Linked DNA regions of Homo sapiens: all the other regions are linked to region 2. The links are contacts of gene promoters, found by promoter capture Hi-C in blood cells and fetal thymus (Javierre and others, 2016). All regions are on one chromosome and are shown on one strand. Each heading gives the region's core, a stretch centred on a gene start or on the middle of the fragment in contact. The rest is flanking DNA. Distances are from core to core; before and after follow the strand shown.

What was found. The method cuts DNA at HindIII sites, captures the fragments that hold promoters and counts their contacts. A CHiCAGO score of 5 or more calls a contact.
Region 1: a contact is called between a fragment that was not itself captured here and the fragment with the promoter of PKDCC in region 2, in 1 of 17 cell types (naive CD8 T cells). The highest score is 5.4, in naive CD8 T cells.
Region 3: a fragment that was not itself captured here is called in contact with the fragment with the promoter of PKDCC in region 2 in 1 of 17 cell types (total CD8 T cells); the score reaches 6.3 in total CD8 T cells.
Region 4: a fragment that was not itself captured here is called in contact with the fragment with the promoter of PKDCC in region 2 in 1 of 17 cell types (non-activated CD4 T cells); the score reaches 5.9 in non-activated CD4 T cells.

Annotation. Positions count from the first base shown.
Region 1 is chr2:42,369,504-42,372,344 of GRCh38, reverse strand. No RefSeq gene overlaps it. Among named protein-coding and RNA genes, the nearest start is that of COX7A2L, 9.7 kb to the right of the region's middle. RefSeq lists an enhancer at 1,913-2,414. The HindIII fragment of the contact is 2,425 bases long and covers 107-2,531 here.
Region 2 is chr2:42,046,716-42,049,753 of GRCh38, reverse strand. PKDCC (protein kinase domain containing, cytoplasmic) reads right to left here and starts at 1,733. Exons shown (of 7, transcript NM_138370.3): 1 at 916-1,733. The coding sequence starts at 1,554. RefSeq lists enhancers at 1-131, 845-1,104, 2,605-2,724, 2,348-2,852, 2,853-3,038 and silencers at 1,145-1,214, 1,345-1,444, 1,455-1,634, 1,785-2,034, 2,145-2,434. The HindIII fragment of the contact is 13,255 bases long and covers 1-3,038 here.
Region 3 is chr2:42,342,436-42,345,609 of GRCh38, reverse strand. It overlaps a transcript of COX7A2L not described here. Among named protein-coding and RNA genes, the nearest start is that of COX7A2L, 17 kb to the left of the region's middle. The HindIII fragment of the contact is 379 bases long and covers 1,496-1,874 here.
Region 4 is chr2:42,440,574-42,443,865 of GRCh38, reverse strand. KCNG3 (potassium voltage-gated channel modifier subfamily G member 3) reads left to right here. Exons shown (of 2, transcript NM_133329.6): 2 at 1-1,849. Among named protein-coding and RNA genes, the nearest start is that of KCNG3, 52 kb to the left of the region's middle. The HindIII fragment of the contact is 173 bases long and covers 1,606-1,778 here.

The DNA.
Region 1 (2,841 bases), core at 70-2,569, 320 kb before region 2:
GCTGCTGCAGGGTGAGTCCTTGGTGCTTTTCACAAGGCCAGGGCAGAACTCTGACATCAGAGAGCGCTGTTATGCAGTGCTTGCCCTTTATGGATTTTTAAAAGCTTGTTGTTTGGCCCAGACATGTGGCTCCCAGCTGCCTGCTTACTGAATCTTTCCCTTGTTTGTTCTTAACCTGAAAAGTCTCATCTCCCTCTTCCTCCCCTTCTTCCCAGAGCTTGGTCTGCTGCTGCCCACCTGTGCCCTGCTTAAAAACACTTTGCTTCCCCTTACCTGTGACCCCTTGGCTTGACCTTTGCCCCTTGCAAGGGGTGAGACCAGGGCTTCAGGGCCTGCTCCGCGGGGCTTGCTGGGAGATTGGGCTGTGAGTGGGCAGCCAGAAAGACTTGTGTACTGCTCCTTCCCTGGTGCCCACCGTCTCAGGACAGAGGCCACTTTATCTTCAGGGGATTCACCCAGGCCCAGGGATGGCGCTCAGATCTGCGAATATGAACTGGTTGCTGAACAAGCAGCAGCATGCGAAACATTTCTCAGAGGAATAAGTCGCCACGTCACAAATCAGAAATGTTGAAATGCAGTGAACTGTTGGATAGAGTGGTTGCCTAAATTAGGGTGAGAAACGGACCTGTCATTAGCAATAGAAGAACTTGCCTATGCCTCTGGCTATAAAAACCGTAATATGTTAGAAGCCTACAGAGGCAAAAACCCTATGTGGCTAAAAGATGAAGCTATTAATGGTGGGCACATGCTGAGGATGGTACTTCTAATCTCCAGAAGCATATAATGGTATTTTCCCCACTGAAATTATAAAAAAGAGAAGCTATTATGGTTCAACATTTAGACAGGAAATAAAGCACTTTTCAAAACAAATTGAAATTATTTTACTCCTGTAGTCTGAACTCATTAGCAAATAAGGTGGAGTTCCTTCTTCTTCTTTTTTTTTGTTTTTGGCCTTATTTTATTTTTTTTTTTTTTTGAGACAGGGTCTTGTGTTCCCCAGGCTGGAGTGCAGTGGTGTAATCTTGGCTCACTGCAACTTCTGCCTCCCAGGCTCAAGTAATCCTCTCACTTCAGCCTCCCAAGTAGCTGAGACTACAGGTACGTGCCACCACACTTGACTAATTTTTTAAGGTTTTTGCAGAGACGCGGTCTCGCTATGTTGCCCAGGCTGGTCTTAAACTCCTGGGCTCAAGAAATCCTCCTGCCTCAGCCTCCCAAAGTGCTGGGATTACAGGCGTGAGTCACTGCACCCAGCCTGGATCTCCTTCTTTCGGGACTTGGACAAATAGGAAGGCTGCTCTTACACTGGCTTTCTCCTTCACACCTTAATCTCCTTACACCTGTGTTATCCAATATAGCCACTAGCTGTATGTGGCTATGTTAAAATTAAATTAAAAATTCAGTTCTTCAGTTGCACTAGACACATTCCAAAGGCTCAGTAGCCACATGTGGATGGTGGCCACCATACCGGCCAGCACAGGCACAGAACATGACCATCATCAGAGAACATTCTATTGGACAGCACTGCTCATCTACTTTTATTGTTGAATTTAACTGTGCATTTTTGGTAAAACTTATTGAACAGCATTTTTGCATCCTGTAAGGAATTTAACACCAATGCTCCTTCTACAGGGTTACATGATGTTGTTTCTTTATTTCATGGCCTTTCTTAGAAATGAAAAGTTCCCCATGATTTTCTTTTTTTTCTTTTTCTTTTTTTTTGAGATGGCGTCTCGCTCTGTTGCCCAGACTGGAGCGCAGTGGCGCGATCTCGGCTCACTTCAACCTCTGCCTCCTGGGTTCAAATGATTCTCCTGCCTCAGCCTGCTGAGTAGCTGGGACTACAGGTGCCCGCCACCACACCCAGCTAATTTTTTGTACTTTTAGTAGAGACGGGGTTTCACCGTGTTAGCCAGGATGGTTTCTATCTCCTGACCTCATGATCCACCCGCCTCAGCCTCCCAAAGTGCTGGGATTACAGGCGTGAGCCACCGTACCCGGCCACCCCATGATTTTCTGAATCAGAGTTCTGCAAGGCCAGGAGATGGTATAAATGTCTGATGGCAGCAGACCAGCCTCCGGCCTCCTTCCACCAACTGCCTCACTGTTCCAGGGCCACTGCTGCTGTCCCCTCCTAACTGCCCCAGTTCCATCCACCCCATTACCTTTTCAGCTGACTCTATCCATTTTCCCTGGGGACCATCCCCTTACGGGCACGACAGTGTCAAAACTGAGCAGCCTGCAGAGGCCCAGCCCCATAAGGGCATGGTAGCAAAGTTCCATTTGTGCCCATGATGGGTGCTGAACAGTTGCAGGCCTCCAGTGGCTGTCAACTCAGGTGACATGTGATGTCATCAAGGGAATTTAATGGAAATAGATTGGAAAGAAATTCCTTCCCACAATATTTGCAATCAATATAGGTTTGGTCTTTTTTGCTTTGTTTTTAATTCTGAGGTGCAAAATCCTCACCAAGAGTTATTCTTCTCGCATCATTTAACTTAGAATCCTACCGGGCTACTCACCCTGAAGCTTGCAGGATACATGGCACTTTTACAACCCACCGGAAATTAAGTGCTAGTTGATTGACAGCATTACAGCTCTCTTAGAAGAGTCTATACCACCCCTCCCCCAGCTCTCTAATTTGATCAGCTCCTAGAGTGTGCTTAGCTGGAGATGGACAGCCCCTGGCAGTCCCAGAGCCTGAAGAAAGTAGGCCTGGTAACCTGGTTTGGATTGCTGTGGTTAAGACCTTGTCCTGGACACTAAGTGCTGGCTGGGCAGGCTTTCAGAACAAAAGGCAAAGTGCCTCTTGTGGAGACTTGTAAGACCCTCCTGGGGAAA
Region 2 (3,038 bases), core at 484-2,983:
TGTTAGGGCGGTGCTGGGACTGTGAGAGGCCCACTCAAAGTCTAGCTTGGAGGGGACAAGGTGGGGGTTTCAGCTCTCGCCTGTGTCTCCAGTGAACAGGCGAGGCAGAGTCCCGTTGAGTAGGAACCTGAGCATTTGGCCTTCTCAACCTTCCAGCCTCTTGGCTATCTATATACACTCAGACAGTGTGACATTTAGATCCTCAGGCCGCCAGTCTGTCCACTGAGCTGAGACCTTCAGGCTTCTCCAGGGGCTCAAGGACCCACTTTAAGGCCTGGGGAACCCTTAGTTCACTTCTGGGAAGGACTGTGTTCCCTTTTTCTAGCCTGCTCCCCAGCCCCCTTCCAGTGTCTTCTGGGTGGCGCTGGAGGTGGGTGGGTGGGGAGACTCTATAGGAATCAAGCCTGACACATGGTCTCTTTCCAGCTCTTCCCAGCCCCACTGCTGTCCCGTCTCATTTTCAAAACCAGACAAATCACTGGAAGTTGGGAGAAGTTCCATCAAGAAGGGGGACTTTATCACACAGTTGGAATTCTGACTCAAGTGTCTTGGCTTAGGGTCATTTTGGCTTGGGGTAATATCCCTGGTGTTCAACCTCCTAACTCCAGCCCGGAGTAGAGTCCTAAATCCTAATGGACTGCCCCACCCCCTGAGTTTTGGGAGCCTCTGTCCTGGCCTGTCTTTAAGAGATGTGTGGAAGCCGAGAAACCCAGGAGTTCTCCGGTAAAGGGACGCCCACCCAGGAGTGAGAAGCAGGGTGGTGCAGTGGGAAGGGCCATGGTCCGGTTTCTGCGTCTAGCTTAGCCTGGGTGCAGTCACTGGCACTCCAGATCAAGGGGTTCTCTTCCAGCCAGGTTGACAAGGTCTTGGGCACTCCCAGCCAACACCGTTACCCCCGCGTCCCCACCCTCGTACCTGCAGCACGTTGGGGTGCCGCAGCCGCTCCAGCAGCACCATCTCCTTAAGCAGCTTGTGGGCCGCCAGCCGATAGCAGCCCCTCCGTACCCCGAACTCGCGCACGCAGCTGCCCAGATCGTGGCCGCTAAAGTCCACCGCCTTGAGCGCCACCGCGGCACCGCCGGGCAGGCGGACCCGGTACACGGCCTTGGTGTAGCCTGAGCCCATGTACTGCGCGCCGGACACGTTGCGAAGCGCGGCGCAGCCCAGGCGCGGGCCCGGGCCGGGGGAGCCTGGGCCGGGAGCCGGGGGCCAGCCTGGGGCGCCGTCGGACAGGGGCCGGGCCCAAGGGGGCCGGGGGCGCGGCAGGCCGGGCCCGCCCGGAGCCAGGTCCATCAGGCGCCGCCGCTCCGGCCGGCCCGCCCCGGGCCCGGGGCCCCCGCGGGAATAGCGCTGCACCTCCTCGTAGCGCGCCCGGATCTGCCGGGCCAGCTCCCCGCGGCCCCCGCGACGGCCCGGACCCGGGGCCGGCGAAGGCTCAGGGGACTGGCCTGGCCTCGGAGGCTCCGAGCCCGGAGCGAAGAGCACGTTGAGGACGGAGCCCAGCAGGAAGGAGGCGCAGAAACCCGCGGCCACTGCCGCCCGCCGGCGCCGCATCGCTCCCCTCCCCCCGGCCGGCCGGCCCCGCGCGGCTCCCCGGCCCCGGCCCCGGGCGGCTCAGGCTCCGAGGCGGCTCCGCTCTGCGCCCCGCCGGCCCCCTGCCCAGCCCGCGCGCATGGCCCCGGCGGCCCCGACCCCGGCCCCTCGCGGGCGACACATCGGCCTGACACTTGCCTCCCTGCCGCCCTGCCCCCGCCGCTTATAAGGCCCAGAGCCGCCCCCCGCCCCCGCCCCCGCCCCCTCCCCCGCCCCCTCCCCCGCCCCTCCGCCTCCACCTCCCAGCTCCCGGCCCGAGCCCGTCCTCGGCGCCGCCCCCTCCGGCCGCCCGGCCCGGCCTTCCCCGCTGACTGACAGCGGGACCTCCTCCCGCGGCCGTCCGGGCCTGGGAAGCGGCGCGGAGGCGGCTCCGGTCCTGCCCAGCCCGCGGTCCCGCCCAGCCCGCGGTCCCCCGAGCTCCGTCTGGGAGCGGGGGAGGGGGCGGCGGCGGCCAGGAGGCGCGCGGGGGCTCCGCGCCCAACGCGAGGGCGGATAACGGGGCCGGGGCGGCCGGATAACGGGATTGGGAGGTGGATAACGGAGCCGGCCGGGCGGAGTGGGGGAAAGATAAAGGGGCGAGGCCGGCGGGTAGCGGGCTCCGGAGGGGACGAGCAGCTAAGTCCGGGGTGCGGAGATCCGAGTGATCTCAGCGCTCCCTCCTGGGACTGGGGGCCTCGGGGCGGTTTGGGCGCAGGGAAGGCGCGTGGACCCCGTCTCTCGCGGGTGGGGCCGGGGGTGGCGGCTCCTCGCTCAGCCCCGGATTCCGGATTGGGGCGATGGTGAGGGGGAAGCGGGCACAGCCGGGCCAGCACCTGCGAGCGCGCGTGGGACAGGAGCTCTAGGCATAGAGGAATGCTCGTGAGCTCGCCGAGGATGCCCTGTTCAACTCCTTTTACCAAAGTGTTTCTGATTTTCCTTGCCTCTAAAGCCCCAAATGCAGCTGGGGGTCGCTCCCTACCCCTCAAGATGCCTGGGGTCTGACGGGGTCAGCCGCGTATAAGAAACCATGTGCATGCTAGTAGCTTGGGCAAAGAGTGCGTTTGTGCCCACGGACGGCTGTCTGTGGAGTGTGTGCCTCGGCGTGTCTGAAGGGGCCATTGTGTCCGATGAAGGGAATGTGTACCTTGTGTGTAAGTTGGTGCTGACGCCACCAGAACTTCGGTCCCTCCTCCTCCCTCCCTGATTGCATCATTAGTGCTAATTGAGGGGCTTTCACACGCCAGTGCACTAGCTGTTTGGAGTGAGCTCCCCCCTCCTGGGAGAGATAAGCCGCTGCCCCTCCCCCTCGCAGCTCTCCTCTTCCCCGCCACTCTGAAACTGCCCACCTAGATCCTCTCACCTTCCTGGGCAGCTTCCTGCCTCCCTCTGGGCCAGGTTAATCTCTGTCCTCCTCACAGTGTCAGGGATTGGCTGGGGAGGGGTCAGGGAGGAGAAGGGTCCACAGC
Region 3 (3,174 bases), core at 436-2,935, 300 kb before region 2:
CCTCAGCCATTCTTGTCCCACCAAGGGGTGTTGCCCTGGAGAGTGAAAACCATCCCTGGGGCAATGTAGGAATATGTGCAAATATTGGTAACATTGAGGAAGTGTGTGTCTCTAATGACTGACAGTTTTTTTTTTTGCAATTTAGAGGTTTTTAACAAAATTGAAGGAGGAGCCAGCTAAGTTGTCACTTGATCATTAAAAATAATTTTGTTTTTGTTTTTGTTTTGAGACAGAGCTTTGCTTTTGTCACCCAGGCTGGAGTGCAATGGTACATTCTCGGCTCACTGCAACCTCCGCCTCCCGGGTTCAAGTGATTATCCTGCCTCAGCCTCCTGAGTAGCTGGGATTACAGGTGTGTGCCACCAGACCTGGCTAATTTTTGTATTTTTAGTAGAGACAGGGTTTCTCCATGTTGGTCAGGCTGGTCTCGAACTCCTGACCTCAGGTGATCTGCCCGCCTCAGCCTCCCAAAGTGCTGGGATTACAGGTGTGAGCCACCATACCTGGCCTAAAAATAATTTTGATAATAGATCACACATGACTTATAACTCAGGAGTTCAAAGAATTGTGATTTTGCTATCACGAAACTTCATTCCCTTCTGTTTATGAAAACAAGGTTTTTCAGTGCTTATATCTGTAAAAATAAAAATGGGAATGGAATTGATGCTGAAATTACCTTATTTTAACAGTAAGCAAGATTTATCCATGGAAACCGGAACCAGCTCCCTCCCTCTAATTGCGATGCCTTTTTTTTTTTTTGAGGCGGAGTCTTGCTTTGTCACCCAGGCTGGAGTACAGTGGCGCAATCTCAGCTCACTGCAAGCTCCGCCTCCTGGGTTCACGCCATTCTCCTGCCTCAGGCTCCTGAGTAGCTAGGACTACAGGCGCTTGCCACAACGTGGGCTAATTTTTCGTATTTTTAGTAGAGATGGGGTTTCATTGCCTTAGCCAGGATGGTCTCCATCTCCTGACCTCGGGATCTGCCCACCTCAGCCTCCCAAACTGCTGGGACTACAGGCGTGAGCCACCGCGCCGGGCCTGCGACGCATTCTAAGACAGATTTTCTCATACTTTGTTTTGGTCAAATATGTACTAATAGTAATTGTAATAATTCAATCTAGAACAAAAGTATTTCTAACACTTAGAGTTTATGGTCACAGGAAATTTAAACAAATTTCAATTTTAGAGTGTTACAGAGAATTATGTATGAGCAAAAGGAGACTTTCATTCCTAAAGTTGTAGTAGGGTAAATGTTTTGGGACAGAGTTGTAGGTATGGGAGTGGAATGGAAAAACACGTGTAAGCAGAGGTTTCTGACTGTTGTATAGATGTGTATTTTTAACCAGATGAAGGTGGGTGTCCAACTGCAGTGGAGGTTACATTCCGTTGGATACATTTAGAACTGATTTAATAATTTAGCTAATATTTATAACAATAGAAACTATACTTTTTGCAACTATTTAAATTTAAAATGAAGAATTTTACGTATTAAGCTTAGATATGCATAGATGTAAATTTTTTTTTAGGGTACACAAGGGTAAGAAAGGTTGAAAATGGCTACTTTACACTTGTCCTTGTAAAGCAGTGCCCACTTATCCCTGGCTTTGCTCTTTCTGTCAGCCAGATTCCCTTTCAGGGTCTGACTAGCTTTCGCTCTCCTTCTCGGCCCCTTCATCCAGTGTGACTTTGCTGTGAAGCTGTTGGGTAAGGTGAAGGTTGGTGTGGCTTTGATAACACTGGCCAGCTTTCGTTTATTTATCTGCTTTTTTCTTCTCTTCATGTGTGTGGCTTTGGGCAGGCTCCCCTGGCTTGTCTGACATTGAGGTCTGTTCATCCCCACGTCTTCCTTCTGATTTTCCTCATGGTCAAAAGCTTGGTAAACCTCTCACTTTCTGTCCCATTCATCTTCAATAGCTAGAGGTTATACCTGGGGCTATAAAAATTGGTTGCTGAGAAATTCTGATACTGCCTGGTCCCAGTGATTTAATACATATATTTGACGTTTTGCCTCCACACCTCCTAGGCTGGGTCACTATTTAGTACCACAGACTGCCCATGTCGGGTTGGCTGAGAAATGGGGCCCTGTCCCTAGAGCTCCTCTTGTCGGGATCATTGGCCGGTATCTTTGGCTCCTCAGGGACTCCCTAACCCACAGTCTTCAAGGAGTTGCATTAATTCTCTGTTATTCTAGACATTTAATTAGTGCGCAGAAGCACACACTATTAGGTGCTGGAGCCTCAGAGATGAACCATGCTTAGGGTCATTTTCAGGGTGTCTCTCCACCTCTTAGGGTTGATAGACCACATGGCTAGCAAACGGCCTTGTTATTGAGGAATTCTGCAGTTATCCTTCACCTGTTCTGATCTGGGAGCTCTCTGTGACTGGCGGGGTTTGGTGACTTTAGAGGAGGCTGCCCGGGTGGGTGTGGTGGAGGGAAATCTGGCTGTGGCTGCTGTTCTGGGAACCCATGTCATGCCTTGGTGGTAGCAGGTCAGGCCTGGTAGCCTGGAGGGCGGCAGCAGCTGACTCTTGCTCTCATGACGTGAACGAGAGCAGTGAGGGTGGCTCAGCACCTCCTGAGGTAGGAGGGGAGTGGGACGATCACTTGCAGTCTCCTCTGCCATCAGCCACTGTCACTTGCATAAGCTGGAATCAGGCCTCCTGACCTCTGTGGCTCCACGGTGCCCGGGTGCGGCACTGCTGCAGGATGTGTTGGGATGGGCAGGTGGGGGGCCCAGATGCTGCTTGCCCAGGGTCCCAAGACTGCTGGAGCTGACTTCCCAGGGGAAGTCTGCTGCAAAACCCGAAACGGGGGGCGCTGAATGGCCAGGAAGAGCATTCTTTAGGTCATATTTTTTTCCTTGAGTTCTGACACAGCCCTCCTGGGACATCCTGCCTTCTCTTGTTCTGACCTCGTCTATGACATAGATTAGTCATGGTCACATGGCTGTGCCTCAGGGCCAAAGCACAGGTCTCTACACTGCCTAATGTGTATTAGCCAGATTGGAATCTTTGCTGACTCCAAATATCACATTCCAAGCTGCCCCAGGCTGTGAGAAATGGTGGCGTTGCCTCCCCTTTGGCAGAGAAGGTTTTAGGAAGAAGCCTTGGAAGGGCTGTAAAGTAAAGCAGATGGAGTTAGGGACCTGGGTTTTCCAAGGCAGGGAAGGAGAG
Region 4 (3,292 bases), core at 443-2,942, 390 kb before region 2:
TCTTGCTGGGTGAGCACTGCAGTGGCATTGTCATCATCTTGGTAGGGTAAAAATTATCCTTCCCAGCCGAAGGGATAAAACAGTTTACTTGTTATGGAGTAAATAGAATTGAGACTGCAAAGGAAGAATAATGACTCCTAGAGTAAACTTTAGGACCCGGTTTTATTTAGACTTGTTTTCCCGTTTCCTTGAATGATTACACATTTTTAAAAAATACATTATTTGAACATTTTAAAACAGAAAGGTACTATTTTCCAAATGTTTTTCCATCTTATGAATTCAGAAGAAGCTTGGAACTTATAGTGTTTTTTGTTTGAGAGTAACATTTTCATTTCTAAATGTTTTATAATTTCTCATATCAATGTCAGAAGTATCCTGGAAACATATGTCACATGCGGGAACTGTTTAACAAATACTTTAAAAATTTGGCCAAAATTTAAACTGTATAATGGAGCTAGATACAAGCAAGAATAGTATTTGAAAGACTTTTCCAGCATACTTCTCAATTCTTTGCTTTATTTTTGTGCCAATTATTCACCTTATCGTGCCGCTTCATGGAAGCTTGAGTATGTTCTCCCTTTTCCATTTTGGATTTATCTCTTTACTGTAATGACTCAAAAGGTATTTAAGAATTGACGAGAGCTTGTGTTGTTTAGCATCTTACTGGATAATATTTGAATTCATTGCTGTTCCTAGGTGATAACTGTCCTAATATTTAGATGTCCAAACAAGAATACTTCCAACATAAAAATTATAATAGGAATAATTTGAGATGACTCAATATTACAACCTCTTCTTCTCTTAACCTCCTCCCCCAAACACTAGAGGTTTAATAAGACTTATCAGATGAAAGGATATTTATATAGCCTTTTAGTAGCAAAGTCATACTTACGTGTTGTCACTGGATTATCATAAAAGGGAGAAATTAAATATTACTGTACTCTTAGTTGCTGTGTAGCTAAGTCAATTTTAAGCCAGTAAAAGCGATGGATACATAATGATTTGATCTGATCTTTAACTATTGTGAATCACAGCTACACCAAAACTCTTCTTGTAAGAATACTGACTAATATGCCATGTTAATCTGGCTAGATTATTAGGACTAGATAATGTAAAAGTGATGATTGTTTAGTAACTAAATTTTAGCAACAGAAATTAGAATTTTGCTTTTTCAACCAGTTACCATAAAGAAGTTAGTGTATATATAAACACAAATAATTAGTGACAGATTCATAAAAAATTGAATGTTGTACACAGTAATTTTGTCAGAGGTAGAGAAGACAGGGATTGGGAAGTGGTGGGTGATGGAGGACCTGGATATATTTATCAAATAAAGGGTTACCAGAAGTGTTCATTAAAGGAATTTTAGCCATCATCTAGTTCAAACCTCAACTATTACAGGTAGAAAATCAGGGCAGGAGAGAATATAATTGTGAAGGAGTCAGGGCTAACACCTGGATCTCCAGAAACCTAGCCCAGCAGGTTAATCTTCACACATCTCTGGGTTCTGAGAAAAGCCTGGAAAAATCACACTTCTTTGTCATTGTCATGCTGAGGTAATAATAGCAAAACTGTTTTCTTTCCCTTAATTTCCTTTCCTAAGCTTATGTAATAGTTTGGCCATTAAATATCTTGCCCTATTTTCCCTATTACTGCTAGTATGCTACTTCTTACATACCCAAAAGAAATTCAGTTATTTATTGTATATTTATTGTATTCTAATATAATTGAAATAAATGGCATGGATTTATTTTTTCTTAACTATTTGGATTAAAGCTTTGTGGTTCATGCAAACAATGTGCAGATGATAGCACCTCCATATTACTAATAAAAATATGATAACCATCAATTTTACTGGTACTGGGACCGCTTTATGTGAATATGTCCTATCTTCCCAAGTAAATTATAACTGTCTTGAGAGCTGGGATCCTCTCTCATGCATACACCTTTGTATCCCCGACAGTGTCTGTTACAGACTTGGGCACAAACAGTTGACTGATTTGAGGGGAGAAACTTCTGTGTGAAGAGACGAGGAGAAGCATATACCTATAGGTATATATATACACACACACCTATATATATATATTTTATACATACATATAGGTATATATATGTGTATATATTTTATATATAGGGATATGTGTGTGTGTATATATATATATAATGTACATGTGCAAATATACACACAGACTTCATGCTACCCTTAGGTAACAAGTGTGAAATCTCTTGTTGGTGATTCCAGACTTTCCATAGGACCGATTTTCATAAAGAAGCATGTTGGGTAAATACTAGTGGCAGTTAAGCTACCCATTTATAAGGAGACGATGAGACGTGATAGAGTAGTTCATTCATAAATGAAAAAATATGTATTAGGGTTTTGTCTTCATGGATGTTGTGTTTTTTTAGGAACAGCATTTTATTGTAACGTTCCCTGAGCGTTGCTACTTTTATCATTATTTATCTATTTATTTTTTTCTAGAGATAGAGTTTTGCTTGGTTGCCTAGGCTGGAGTGCAGTGGTGTGATCATAGCTCACTGCAGTTTTGAACTCCTGGGCTCAAGCAGTCCTCCCACCCCAGCCTCCCAAGTTGCTAGGACTATAGGTGTGCATCACCATGCTGGTTAATTTTTTAATTTTTATTTTTTTGTAGAGATAGGGGTCTCACTGTGTTGCCCAGGCTTGCCTCAAACTCCTGGCCTCAAGCAGTCCTCCCACCTCAGCCTCTCAAAGCTCTGGGATTATGGGCATGAGACACTGTGCCTGGCCTGTTGCTGCTTTTTTAAAAAACCATTAAGTATCACTTCTTTCTTAGCTATACTTACAGACATCTCTTATAACTCAGTCTTTTCATGGCAGAAATGTTTTCATTAATATCTGTATTGGTACCAGTAAGTCAGACATTATCCTAAATTAAAATACCCAAAGAGGAAAAAAGCCCTAATCTCCTAATCTTTAATCTGATTTTACCACACCTGAATTTACATGACTTGATCTAATATGTAACTTGTTTTGTATTCTCTAAAATGGGAGTTTTAGGATTACAAACACAAAATTAGGGAATATATTTGAAAGTGAACAAACTAACAATTCAAGGCTTTCATTACTGTATTGTCCTTGTTGCTAATTGAAACAGTTGCATTTGTTCTTGGGTTTGGTCATTACCTATAAGTACCCATTTGTAAGTTCATACTTTCTGAAAAGTTATTTCCACAATGGCTGTCAATAAGTCAAAATTATTTGTCTTTTTAAACCTTTGTCCAGATGTCCTGTGATCTGGAAGAGGTGGAGATG